Linked DNA regions of Homo sapiens: all the other regions are linked to region 1. The links are contacts of gene promoters, found by promoter capture Hi-C in human tissues and cell types (Jung and others, 2019). All regions are on one chromosome and are shown on one strand. Each heading gives the region's core, a stretch centred on a gene start or on the middle of the fragment in contact. The rest is flanking DNA. Distances are from core to core; before and after follow the strand shown. Region 1 holds the start of LYPD1 (LY6/PLAUR domain containing 1). Region 2 overlaps NCKAP5 (NCK associated protein 5). Region 3 overlaps NCKAP5 (NCK associated protein 5).

What was found. The method cuts DNA at HindIII sites, captures the fragments that hold promoters and counts their contacts. A contact is called where the count stands out against the background at its distance.
Region 2: a contact is called between a fragment that was not itself captured here and the fragment with the promoter of LYPD1 in region 1, in 1 of the 25 tissues and cell types used here (mesendoderm cells).
Region 3: a fragment that was not itself captured here is called in contact with the fragment with the promoter of LYPD1 in region 1 in 2 of the 25 tissues and cell types used here (mesendoderm cells and thymus).

Annotation. Positions count from the first base shown.
Region 1 is chr2:132,667,971-132,671,637 of GRCh38, forward strand. LYPD1 (LY6/PLAUR domain containing 1) reads right to left here and starts at 2,235. Exons shown (of 3, transcript NM_144586.7): 1 at 1,911-2,235; 2 at 430-567. The coding sequence starts at 1,962. RefSeq lists an enhancer at 1,098-2,061. The HindIII fragment of the contact is 6,763 bases long and covers 1-3,667 here.
Region 2 is chr2:132,821,333-132,824,895 of GRCh38, forward strand. The region is part of intron 11 of NCKAP5 (NCK associated protein 5); the gene reads right to left. Among named protein-coding and RNA genes, the nearest start is that of NCKAP5-AS1, 92 kb to the right of the region's middle. The HindIII fragment of the contact is 4,902 bases long and covers 1-3,563 here.
Region 3 is chr2:132,889,201-132,892,989 of GRCh38, forward strand. The region is part of intron 8 of NCKAP5 (NCK associated protein 5); the gene reads right to left. Among named protein-coding and RNA genes, the nearest start is that of NCKAP5-AS1, 24 kb to the right of the region's middle. The HindIII fragment of the contact is 4,819 bases long and covers 1-3,789 here.

The DNA of each region.
Region 1 (3,667 bases), core at 985-3,484:
GCCTCTATGACAAAACACATTTTTCAAGCTCTGACCTCTGGGAGCTTCAACTAGCTCCATATTTCAGGCTGACAATGCTCACAGGCTACTGTCTAGTTGCCCAAGCCAGGGCTGGTTAGCCATATATTTTCTACCTCCATCAGCTTTTAGCATAGGGAGGTGAAGGGAGTAAATAAAAAGAGGAGAGCCACTAATTTACATGCACTTCCCCTCCCAAGACCCTTGGGGAGAAGCCTTGGTAATTAACTCTAATGAGATTAAAGTAACTTGGAACTCTTCATTTTCCCAGCACTGTAAAACTAAATCTGCGATAACCAGTGTGTGGGCATTAAATCAAAGTCAGTCCTTTTTCCTGCTATTTAATGGCCCCCTCACTCCCACCCCACAGCCCAGGCTTAAGAGCGAGGGGGAGGGCTGCCAGGCTCTTACCGGCACTTTGCTCCATCACTTCTTTCTGACACATGTCTTGAACGTTCACCGTGCAATTCACAATGAACTCGGGGGAGGAGCAGTCGTTGTTCAGCTGGAATTCTTCACACTGGTAGCACTGGATTTGCAGCGCAAAGCCTGCGAGACAGACGCAGTCGGGTTCAGATCCGGCCCCCACAGAGCCCACCCCGGAAATCACGACCATCCCACGCCTCAGAGCCAGGCGGCTCCCAGCCTCTGGCAGGCTTAGACCACTCCTGGGTCTCCGGGTAGGGCTGGATGTGGCTGACACCGGCAGGGGGCGGCGCGGGTACCTAGGGTCCTACGGAAGAAAGTGGAATAGTGCCCGCCACCCCTGGACCCCGGCTCTAGACACAAAGCGCCCATCCATTACCACCCCAGGCCTTTTCCCAAGAAGTTGAAGGGAGGGTGGGGACGGTACCACCGCAAGAGTGAAGTAGCTCTGGAGATGTGCGTTAGCTCCAGCCTAAGCCAAAGGATTTGCCTAATTGCTAATTGGTTACAAATTACTTAATTACTATTTTGGCACCATTCGTGATTACATTCGCAGACGTCTTTTTAGTTTTTATTTATTTAATTTTTAAAGTCAGCGTTTCTGTGCCAGGGCTCTGAGGATCCCTGAGCGACCACCTGGGAACAACTTGGGTGGAGGTGCCAGACGCCAAGCGCTGCTGCGCCGCAAGTCCCCGAGCCCGGGTCGGCGGCCCTTCTCCGGGGCCGTCCCCGCGGCGACCCGAATGGCCACAGAGGGTGGGAAAGGGCGTTTGTGAGCGCGCGCACCCTGGATCCCCGACCCCGCAGCCCTTTCTTCCAGGCCCCGGCTTTCAGGACAACCGTTCGACTAGGGTCAGTGGTCGGGGTTCCAGCTCTGCAGAGCTTAGTCGGGAGCCAGTAGGCGAACTGGAGAGAGGACGCGAGACCTTTGCGCCTCTGGACGCTTCGGCCTGGCTGTTCTCGGTGTACGCGCTCCTGTCTAGACCCAACTACCCACGCTCCCGCAGCCCCACATCTATCGCACTCTGAGCGCAGCAACCCAGCTTCAGCGTGGCCGCAGGCTGCCTCGCGCATCGCTCACCTGTCGGCGGCGCCACTCCCACGGGGTGCCGGAGGCGCCAGACAACTTGGCAGGGTTCGGGAGATGTCGCCCCCTCTCCCTCGCCCAGAACCCAGCACCGCTCGGACCCTCCCTCCTCTCAAGCCCAGCTTCTCCCGACGGTGCAGCCGGACAAGCTGCAGCCCGGAGTCCCGCAAACCCGCCGCTCCCCGCTCTCCTCCTGCAGCGCGGGACTTGGACACTTTCCCAGCCTCGCGCCCCGGGGCACCAGTCGCGGCCGCCAACTCCCGCTGGGCAGCCCCAGCGCAGGGCTGGCCCCGAGGTGGGCGCCTTGGGGGCAAAAGGGCTGGCGGGTAGATGGATTGTGCGCACCTGGCCTCGGCTGCTGGCCTCTGGGTATTCTCACCTGGAAGCAAGAACAATCCGCAAAAAGTTGCCGCGATGCCTAGGACCCACATTCTCCCGGAGTCCCGGGGCCGGGAGAGGGCAAGCGCATCAGAGGAGGCGACAGCAGCGGAGGCTGCCCCGGCTGCAGCGGCTGTGGCTGCCGAGGCTGCTGGGGCCCGCGCTGCTGCCGCGGAGACGACGGTCGTAGCTTAGAGGAGCCGCAGGTGCCGCTCGCGGAGCCTGCATCGCCCGCGCTCGGGCTCCCGGCTGCGGGTCTCTGCTCCTCCCGCTCGCGCTCCCGGGCCGAGCACCGCGCCTCCGGAGTTGGCGGCTGAGACTGAAGGAACTACTGGCGATCGGGAGCACCCACAAAAGTCTCGCCTTTTCTCCCCACCTCCCACTCCAGGCATCACGTGACGGCTGCCGAGTTGGGGTGGGGGTGGCGGGCGGGGAAGGCTGGGACGGTCGCTTCACATCCCCACCCCCTTCCTGTCTTCCTCTTCTCCCGCCTCCGCACGTTCCTGGGAAAGGGGCGCCGGGGGGCGGGAGAGAACTGGTAGTTTTCTGAGATGGGGAGGTTGGGGGAGCGGCGAGGAGGGCGCAGCAGGTGCCGTGGGGACCTGCCGGGTGCGGACTAGGGTCTGAGGACTGCGTGCCCGGCTGGCCCTTCGCACATAGGAAGGCAGCCTCCCCACTCCACGTCCTCTGCGCCTTCCAGGACTGGTCGGTACCCCAGCGACTGGGTCCAGCCCACACAACTGAGGCTGTCCCGCTGCGGGCCGCGGGAGCCTGGCGCCCCGGGAGGCTGACAGGAAGGGCGCGCGTTCCCGTGCGCCTGGCAAAGTTCCACGCCCGCAGGCTCCGTAGGGTGTCCTGTGCAGCTGTGCCCCCTCTTCCTCCGCGAAGGCCTTCTGTCAAGAACCAGCTCGGCGTGGCCAATCTGGGTGGGGGTGTGGTGGGGACACTGCCTTAACTGTCTCACTTGCCCGGGCCGCCCTCCCTTCTCCCGCCTGCGCGCACCGCTGGAGGGTGCATTGACACCGCCCTGGTCGCCTAGCCTAGGAGAACGCCGTCCCGGGGACACCTGCCGTGAGGTCCTACCAGAAAGCAAATCAGGGTGAGGAAGAGGGTTGTTCTCCTCCATTCCTTGTCTCCCAAACGCCAGCCGGCTCCATTCTGCTTTCCCCAAAGCCACCGATTATTAGCACATACTCCCACGTCCTCTCCTGAAAGGCCATCCCAGCCTCGGACTCGGCCTCTGGCTGCTCCCCACACCCCTCAAATTCGTCTTCTTTCCGCAAAGTCCAAGTGACCCACCTTGCGGACTCCCGGGGATGCCCCGGTGCTATCTTCGCCTTCCTTCCCGAGCCTTGCAGCAGGTGGTGCGGGAGACCGCTTGCCCGCCGGAGTGCGTTGGTGCCCCCGCCCCCAATCCGCACATTCCCATCCCCTTTCCGCACATCCTTAGGGAGCATCCATTTCCGTGGAAATCGCCTCCTAAGCTTTAGCTCCTCTTCACCCTTTTCTCCCCCGGCCACTTCTGGGGGCAGCTCTCTCACGCCGGGACGCTGATCATTTATTTCTGCATCCTCCCAGCAGAGCTGGTCTGTAAAGGGGCTTAAATGACTTTCTTTGTAATTCCTCTGCAGAGATCGTTCCATATCTGCCTCAGGCTCCTTCTCTCCCTCCCTCCCTCCCTCTCCCCCTTCTTTCATTTCTATTTGGTTAACCCCTCGGGGAGACTGAAATGCTTTGACCATTACTCACCTGTCTGCA
Region 2 (3,563 bases), core at 950-3,449, 150 kb after region 1:
GAGAAATATAGAAGTACAAGTAGCAGTGAGAAGTGCCTTGAACGCACTCCCAGCTTCTAGCTTAAGCCCCAGGAAGCCATCCCTGATTATACCTCATGGGGGCCCTCTGGGAAGACAGCCAGAGGAATTGTGGAGGGGTTGCTGGGTAAAGGAAACTCTCAACTGAAATTGGTAGTGGTTTCAACTGGGCACAAATTCTCTTGAGTGGAGTCCAGGGGACCAGCAGGAGCTGTTGTGGATAGGAGTGAGCTAGCGAAGGAGCTACTGCGGACAGAGTGGACAGACAGGAAGGGGAGAGGTCTGAAAGCCATGCTTGCTTTCTCAGCTGGGTAGCTCACAGTCTGGGGCAAAGTGTGAGTGGGGAACTGCAGGAGTGAGACCCACCTCACCAACTGCCTGGGAGCTGGGTGAGGCTATCCCCCACTTCCCTGGTGAACTATATAACACAGCAGAGACAGCCAACATCCCCTCTGGAACATAACCCCATTGGCCTGAGAATCACTCCCCCATGCCCCACAGTGGCCGTGGCAAGCTCCACCCAAGGAGAGTCTGAGCCCACACCTGCCTAACCCTGCCCTGACTGGGTAGTACTTCCTTACCTGCCCTGGTAGCTGAACACAAAACATAGAAACTCTTGGGAGCTTTATGGCCCCACCCATTACCTGAAAAACCAAAATACTCTGGCCATCTTAGGGCAAGCTTAGAGTCCCCTACTAGCATCTTGGCTGCTGCTCTCTTGAAAGTGCCACCTCCTGGCTGGAGGCCAACAAACTCAGGCCATTACAGCAACTCAGGACAGAATCACCTTGATCCCAGGAAGAAGACAAAACTTGATTCCACTGCCTGCAACACCTTGGCTAACCAGAGGTCCTGAGGGTGTCCATGTGACAACTTCACTGCTAGCATAACCAGTATTCAAGAAAGCCAGCACATTGAACATACGTATAACCATGGACACTTACAGAGTCCACTTCACTCCCCTGCCACCTCTACCAGGGCAGGTACTGGTTTCCATGGCTGAGAGACCTGAAGATGGACCGCATCACAGGACTTTTTGGAGACATTCCACAGCACCAGCCTGGAGCCTGATAGCCCTGCTGCATGGATAGACCCAGAAGAGCAACAACAGTCACTGCAGTCCAGCTCTCAGGAAGCCCCATTCCCAGGGGTAAGGGGAGAGCACATCAAGGGAGCACCCCGTGGGACAAGAGAATCTGAACAGCAGGCTTGGCCAGTAGGTCTGGCCTCTCCATTGAATTAGTCTACCCAAATGAGAAAGAACCAGAAAAGTAATTCTGGTAATATGACAAAACAGGGTTCTATAACAAGCCCAAAAGATCACACCAGCTCCCCAGCAATGGATCCAAACTAAGAAGAAATCTCTGAATTGCCAGATAAAGAATTCAGAAGGTTGATTATTAAGCTACTCAAGGAGATACAAGAGAAAGGTGAAAATCAACTTCAAGAAATAAAAAAAATGGGAAATGGATACAAAATTATCCAGAGAAATAGATATCATAAAGAAAAACAATCACAACTTCTGGAAATGAAAGACATGCTTAGAGAAATGCAACATGCAGGGAGAGTTTCAACAATAGACTAGGATAAGTAGAAGAAAGAGCTTCAGAACTTGAAGTCAAGGCTTTTGAATTAACCCAATCAGACAAAGACAATGAAAAAATAATTTAAAAAAATGAACAAAACCTCTAAGAAATTTGTGATTTTGTTAAATGGCCAAACCTAAGAATAATTGATGTCCCTGAGGAAGAGAAATCTAAAAGTTTGGAAAACTTATTTGTGGGAATAATTGAGGAAGACTTGGCCTTGCTATAGAGATCTAGACATTCAAATAGAAGAAGCTCAAATAACACCTAGGGAATTCATTGCAAAAAGATCATCACCTAGGCACATAGTCATCAGATTATCTAAAGTCAAAACAAGGGAAAGTATCTTAAGAGCTGTGAGACAAAACCATAAGATAATCTATACATGAAAACCTATCAAATTAACAGCAGACTTCTCAGCAGAAATCTTATAAGCCAGAAGGGATTGGGGTCCAATCTTCAGCCTCCTGAAACAAAATAATTGTCAGCCAAGGAATGTGTATTCAGTGAAACTAAGCTTCATAAATGAAGGAGAGATAAAGTCTTTTTCAGATAAATAAATACCGAGAGAATTCATCACAACTCAGTCAGCACTATATAAAATGCTAAAAGGAGTTTAAAATCTTCAAAGAAAACCTCAGAATACACCACAATAGAACTCCCTTAAAGCATAAATCTCACAGGGCCTATAAAACAATAACACAATGGAAAAAAAACCCAAGGTATTAAGGCGACAACTAACATGATGAATAGAACAATACCTCACATCTCAATACTAATGTTGAATGTAAATAGCCTAAATGCTCTACTTAAAAGATACAGAATGGCAGAATGGATAAAAATCCATCAACCATGTATCTGCTGTCTTTAAGAGACTCACCTAACACATAAGGACTCACATAAACCTAAGGGATGGGGTGGAAAAATATACTCCATGCAGATGGAAACCAAAAGCAAGCTGACAAAACATACTTTAAAGCAACAACAGTAAAAAAGACAAAAGAGGGACATTATATAATGATAAAAGGAATAATCCAACAGGAAAATATCAGAATCCTAAATATATATGCACCTAACACTGGAGCTCCCAAATGTATTGGGGTGACTGTGGGTAATACATCTTTTTGGATGTGAATGTTTTCCTCTTGAAGTTCAGAATAAATAAGGAATATCTCAGGATTTCATTCAGCTGCAAAAACAAACAAACAAAAAACAGAAAGCCTCACTTAACAGTTACTTCAGCTTATAGGGATTTATATTTCTTACATAGCCAAATGTCCAGAGGTAGGCAGTCCAGGGCTTGTGTAACAGTTCATTGATCTTGTCAAGGAACTAAACTCTTCCCATCTTTCTGCTCTGCTCTGCCCTCTTTTACTAGGGGCTCATGCCAAGATGACTGCTGCACATCCTGGCATTGCTTCCACCTTCCAGATAGAGAGAAGGGTTAAGAGGGGATGAAGAACATCTAGAGCCATATCTGTCCCTCCTTTATCAGGTAACATAAGTTTTGTCATAAATCTCTATGGCAGATTTCCTTTTAGGTCTCATAGGCCAGAACTAGGAGAAAAGGAGGCTGAGAAATAGCATATTTGGCTTTCTAATCTCTGAAGTAGAAGAAAGAAGGGAGAAGAATATTGATTGTGTATGGTGGTCACAAGTGCTGCCTATCACATAAATCTAGCTCTCTTTCCTTTTGGGAGTATGTTCATCAGTTGTGCTTCCTGACCCCTCTGTGGTTGGGTGGGGCCCTGTGACTAGTTCTGGCTAATGAATTGTGGATGGAATGCTTCAAGCAAGAGCATTTTAAATACAGATGTGAAACCCCCTCAGAGCTTTCATCTTGCTGGCCTAGTGACTGGCAATGTTTGAGATGGTGGCTGGTCCATCAGCAAGGTCTCCTGAGTGTTTAACATGTGCACAGCAAGACTGATGACTCATAAAAGACATGTGGCATGAGAA
Region 3 (3,789 bases), core at 841-3,340, 220 kb after region 1:
ATCACATAGATTGGAGATGAACTATCCAGCTGTGTCCTCCCCAAATTTCTGACCCATAAAATTGTGAGAAAAATTAAATTGTTATTTTAAGCCTCAAAGTGTTGAGATAGTTGGTTACATAGCAATAAATAAGTGGAACAGTCATATTCAGGAAACGAGGTGGAACATCAATTCTTTTATGTGTACATTCAATTACTGGTCCTTTGCTGTACCTGCAGGAGCTATGCTGGGGGAAAATAAAGATGGATAAAATATACAGGGGCCACCATAAAGAAAACAATAGTCTAATAGAAGAAACAAGTTAATTTCTCACATTGAAAACTACAATGCAATAGGATCAGAACAAAAAAAAAATCAACAAACTTCAGATGAGGTAGGAAAGAGGTGACCGACCCTTGAATCAGTCTACTCAACAGGCAATCAAAACAATGACAAAGGTGCACATTGGACTAAATAAAAATAACACAGTTTTGAACAAAATGCCAAGAAAATGACACCTGACTTGTATTCAAAAAGCACATTATTCAACCAGGCTAGAATCCTGGATGTAAATATTGTCAAATTATTATGAAAGCAAATAATGTCAGACACTATCTAATACCCACTGCAGAGAAAACCTTGGGTTCAACAATGGCAAAAAAAATAAATAAATAAAATAACAAACTGATCATATGCAAATGAAACAGGTAGAAATGAACAGGGTTGAGTGGTGTGGAGGAAAGAAGGTGGAAAGAAGATGTCCTCTGAAGGCAAAAAGAGAGAGAAAGAGAAGAAAACGACCAATTCACAGTAGTTAAAAAAGGCTGCCTCCCTGTGGCTTTCCCACGGCAAAAGCTGGTCTTTTCCAGAGTGACATCTTTCAAGCTTGCTGAAACTCCTTCAATTCAGGAAAGGCAGACAGGTCAGAATAAGATCAGAAAAGGTATTTCTCTAAAATACCAATTCAACTCATGGTTTGGCCCCATAGGTAAGAAAAGGTGCTTCTGTACTTTATTTTCTCTTTGGAATTTTTTCCAGCCAAAAATGTGCTGCTTTATGATGGCCAGCCTGTGTCAGAGTCCTGTGCCACTCTACTTAAATAACACACTTCACAACTCTAGGCCATCCCAACAATTTCATTTGGGGAGGCCAAAGGGCTGTACCTGCAGGAGCTATGCTAGGGGGTATACAAAGATGGATAAAATATAGAGAGGCCACCATAAAGAAAAAAAATAGTCTAATAGAAGAAACAAGTTAGTTTCTGACAGTGAAAACTACAGGCTTCCAAGCAAAATACACAGGTCCCCAAAATGTTCCTAATTCCCCTGCAGTCTGTTCTGTTTTGAAAGCTGTTTAAAAACATCCTGAGGAAAAAGTCCCAGGGGAGTGGCTAAGCGTGCCAGCCAGGTGAGTGCATTTTCATCTGCTAGAGTGATATAAAGTCTGAATACAAGGAACACCAAGAACTGGAGCTGGAATATTGAATCCCCTTCCCTCTATGATTATAATTCAAACTTACGGGGTTTCTGAATCACTCATCTTATCACACCTGGCTGCCATAGTGGCCATATGTGTAGCGTAGTTGGCTAAAGGGTGTTCCCCACTGATTGTATTTGAGAGCTTGTACAGTATCCAGACCCAGACAATGTCTAGGGCTGCTGGGCATCTTGGAGGCAAATGTTATCATCCTAGAAAATGTCAATAAAGACATTAAGCTCTGACCACCTACAGAGAAACAAATACGTGTACCCATACATGTGTGAAGGCATCCTCACAATGTCCTTATTCTTGGACTCAACCCATTAGGTTTAGGACCAGCACAAGACACTAAGGATATAAACTACATTAAAATGAAGTCTTTGTTTAAAAAAGTTGAGGAGCTACGCCGTGAGAAGATGTGATGTAGAACCTGTCCACAGGTTCATTTTTGAAGAGTTGAATAGAAAACACTTCATAATGAAACCTCTGTGTACTTCTAGAATTTAAACGTTTGGATGGGGCTTCAGGCCAGTGGTTGGAAACTTGAGTGTGCATTGGAATCACTTGGGGGGTTATGGGATCACAGACTGTGGGGGAGCCACCCTCACATTTGGATTCAGGGCACCTACAGTAGGGTCCAATAACTGACATCTCTAACAAGTTCCCAGGTGCTGCTGCTGGCCTGGGAACAGCACTTTGAGAGCTAGTGCTCAAGATGGATCAACTTCAGGGTGAAGGTGGGTGTCACCTCCTTCTTCCCCCATGCTGCCATTGCCTTGGAAGCATTCAGAAGTCTCTTACTGCTTCTCTGGAACTGGGGGGTGGTAACCACACAATTTTATACTTTTCCTTCTCTTGTTTTGTTTATGAGTCTGCCTCTCTCTCCTACATCAGTGACTCTCATTGGGAGAAAACAGCCTAAGGGCATAGATCAGTGTCTCTCTGTGTGTGCATATGCATATGGGTGAGTAGAACAGAAAAAAACTGTGTGTGATTTGGAAAACCATTATTTGATGCTGCATTACATCTGGAAAATAATAAACGGTAATGCTTTCATGATACAAGAAGTCAGCTCGATAATTTCCTTGCCCAGGGGGATATACAGAAAAGAAATCCATGCCTGGAGTGCGAAGGCAAGAGGAGTGGTAAAGCAGATCTATCTTCCTAGGAGGAGAGTAAGATAATCTGATGGGAAGTGACGGCGTGCTTTTCAAATTTCCTTTTATTTGAAATGGATGTAAAAATAAATGTCTGTCACTGTTTTGGGTTGAATGAGATGATGAAGGCAGAATGTAACGAACATGGAGCCTGGCCCTCTGTATGGTTTGGTGAATGGCAGTTTCCTTCAGTCTTTTGTAAAACAGCTCCCATTTGTAACCACGGCCACTCACAGGCTTTAATGCAGGGGGTGGTGGTGTCAGCCAGGCCAGAAATTGTCCCTGCTGAGGGAGAGATTTTGGCCAACAGAAATGTACCATGGGTCCTCTGGATTGGACAGTTTAAACAGGCTCACATACAGATTAGCGTCAGGTCCTGATTCTTTTAACCCACAGTCTTCCTCTCTCACCCTTTCTTCTTCTCTTTCTCACCTTCTTACTTCTGCTTCCAGATGCCCATTTATCAACTCATTATTACATTTATCAACTCAATATTACATATCTGAGCTCAAGATACAACACGTATTTTCCAATTATGAGAGAAGCTGAAATTTTAGGGACTCCAAAATTTCTTTGTAAAAACAACCTTTAAACCTTAAAACATATTCCATCCCCCACCACCAGATGTGCTTTCAGAGATACAAATCTATGACTTTCAAGCTAGGGTGGACTAGAGTGGATTTTTCGGTTTTAGAAGCCTCACAGAGAAATTTCATGGAGCTAAAAAATGTAAAACAATCTGATCACTCTGTTGAGTAGAGAATATTTGTGGCATTAACCACCAGGTATTTTAGAAGTTAAACTATGCAAAACTCATTGACTGATTTGCAGAAAAGAATATCAATTAATATATTGACTTTATTACCTCATTTAATTGAAGGCCCCCAAACTCTGAGGTAGATAGGATCAGCTCCATTTTACAGATGAAGAAAATAAGAGACTATCAATATAAATCCTTTGTGTTGCAGAGATAGTTTATTTATATACACAGTCCTTATTCCTTACTAAGGACTTAATACAGTACTTTGAAGAAAAAAATATAAATGACAATAGCCTGATAAATGCCTAAATACCAGCGTGTTTGAACCCTCTCTACCAAGAAGCAGGTAATTCAGGTCAGGAAAAAGACTGAGAATTTCTCTAGAAATAGGAATTCTTGACCTCTGATCTATAA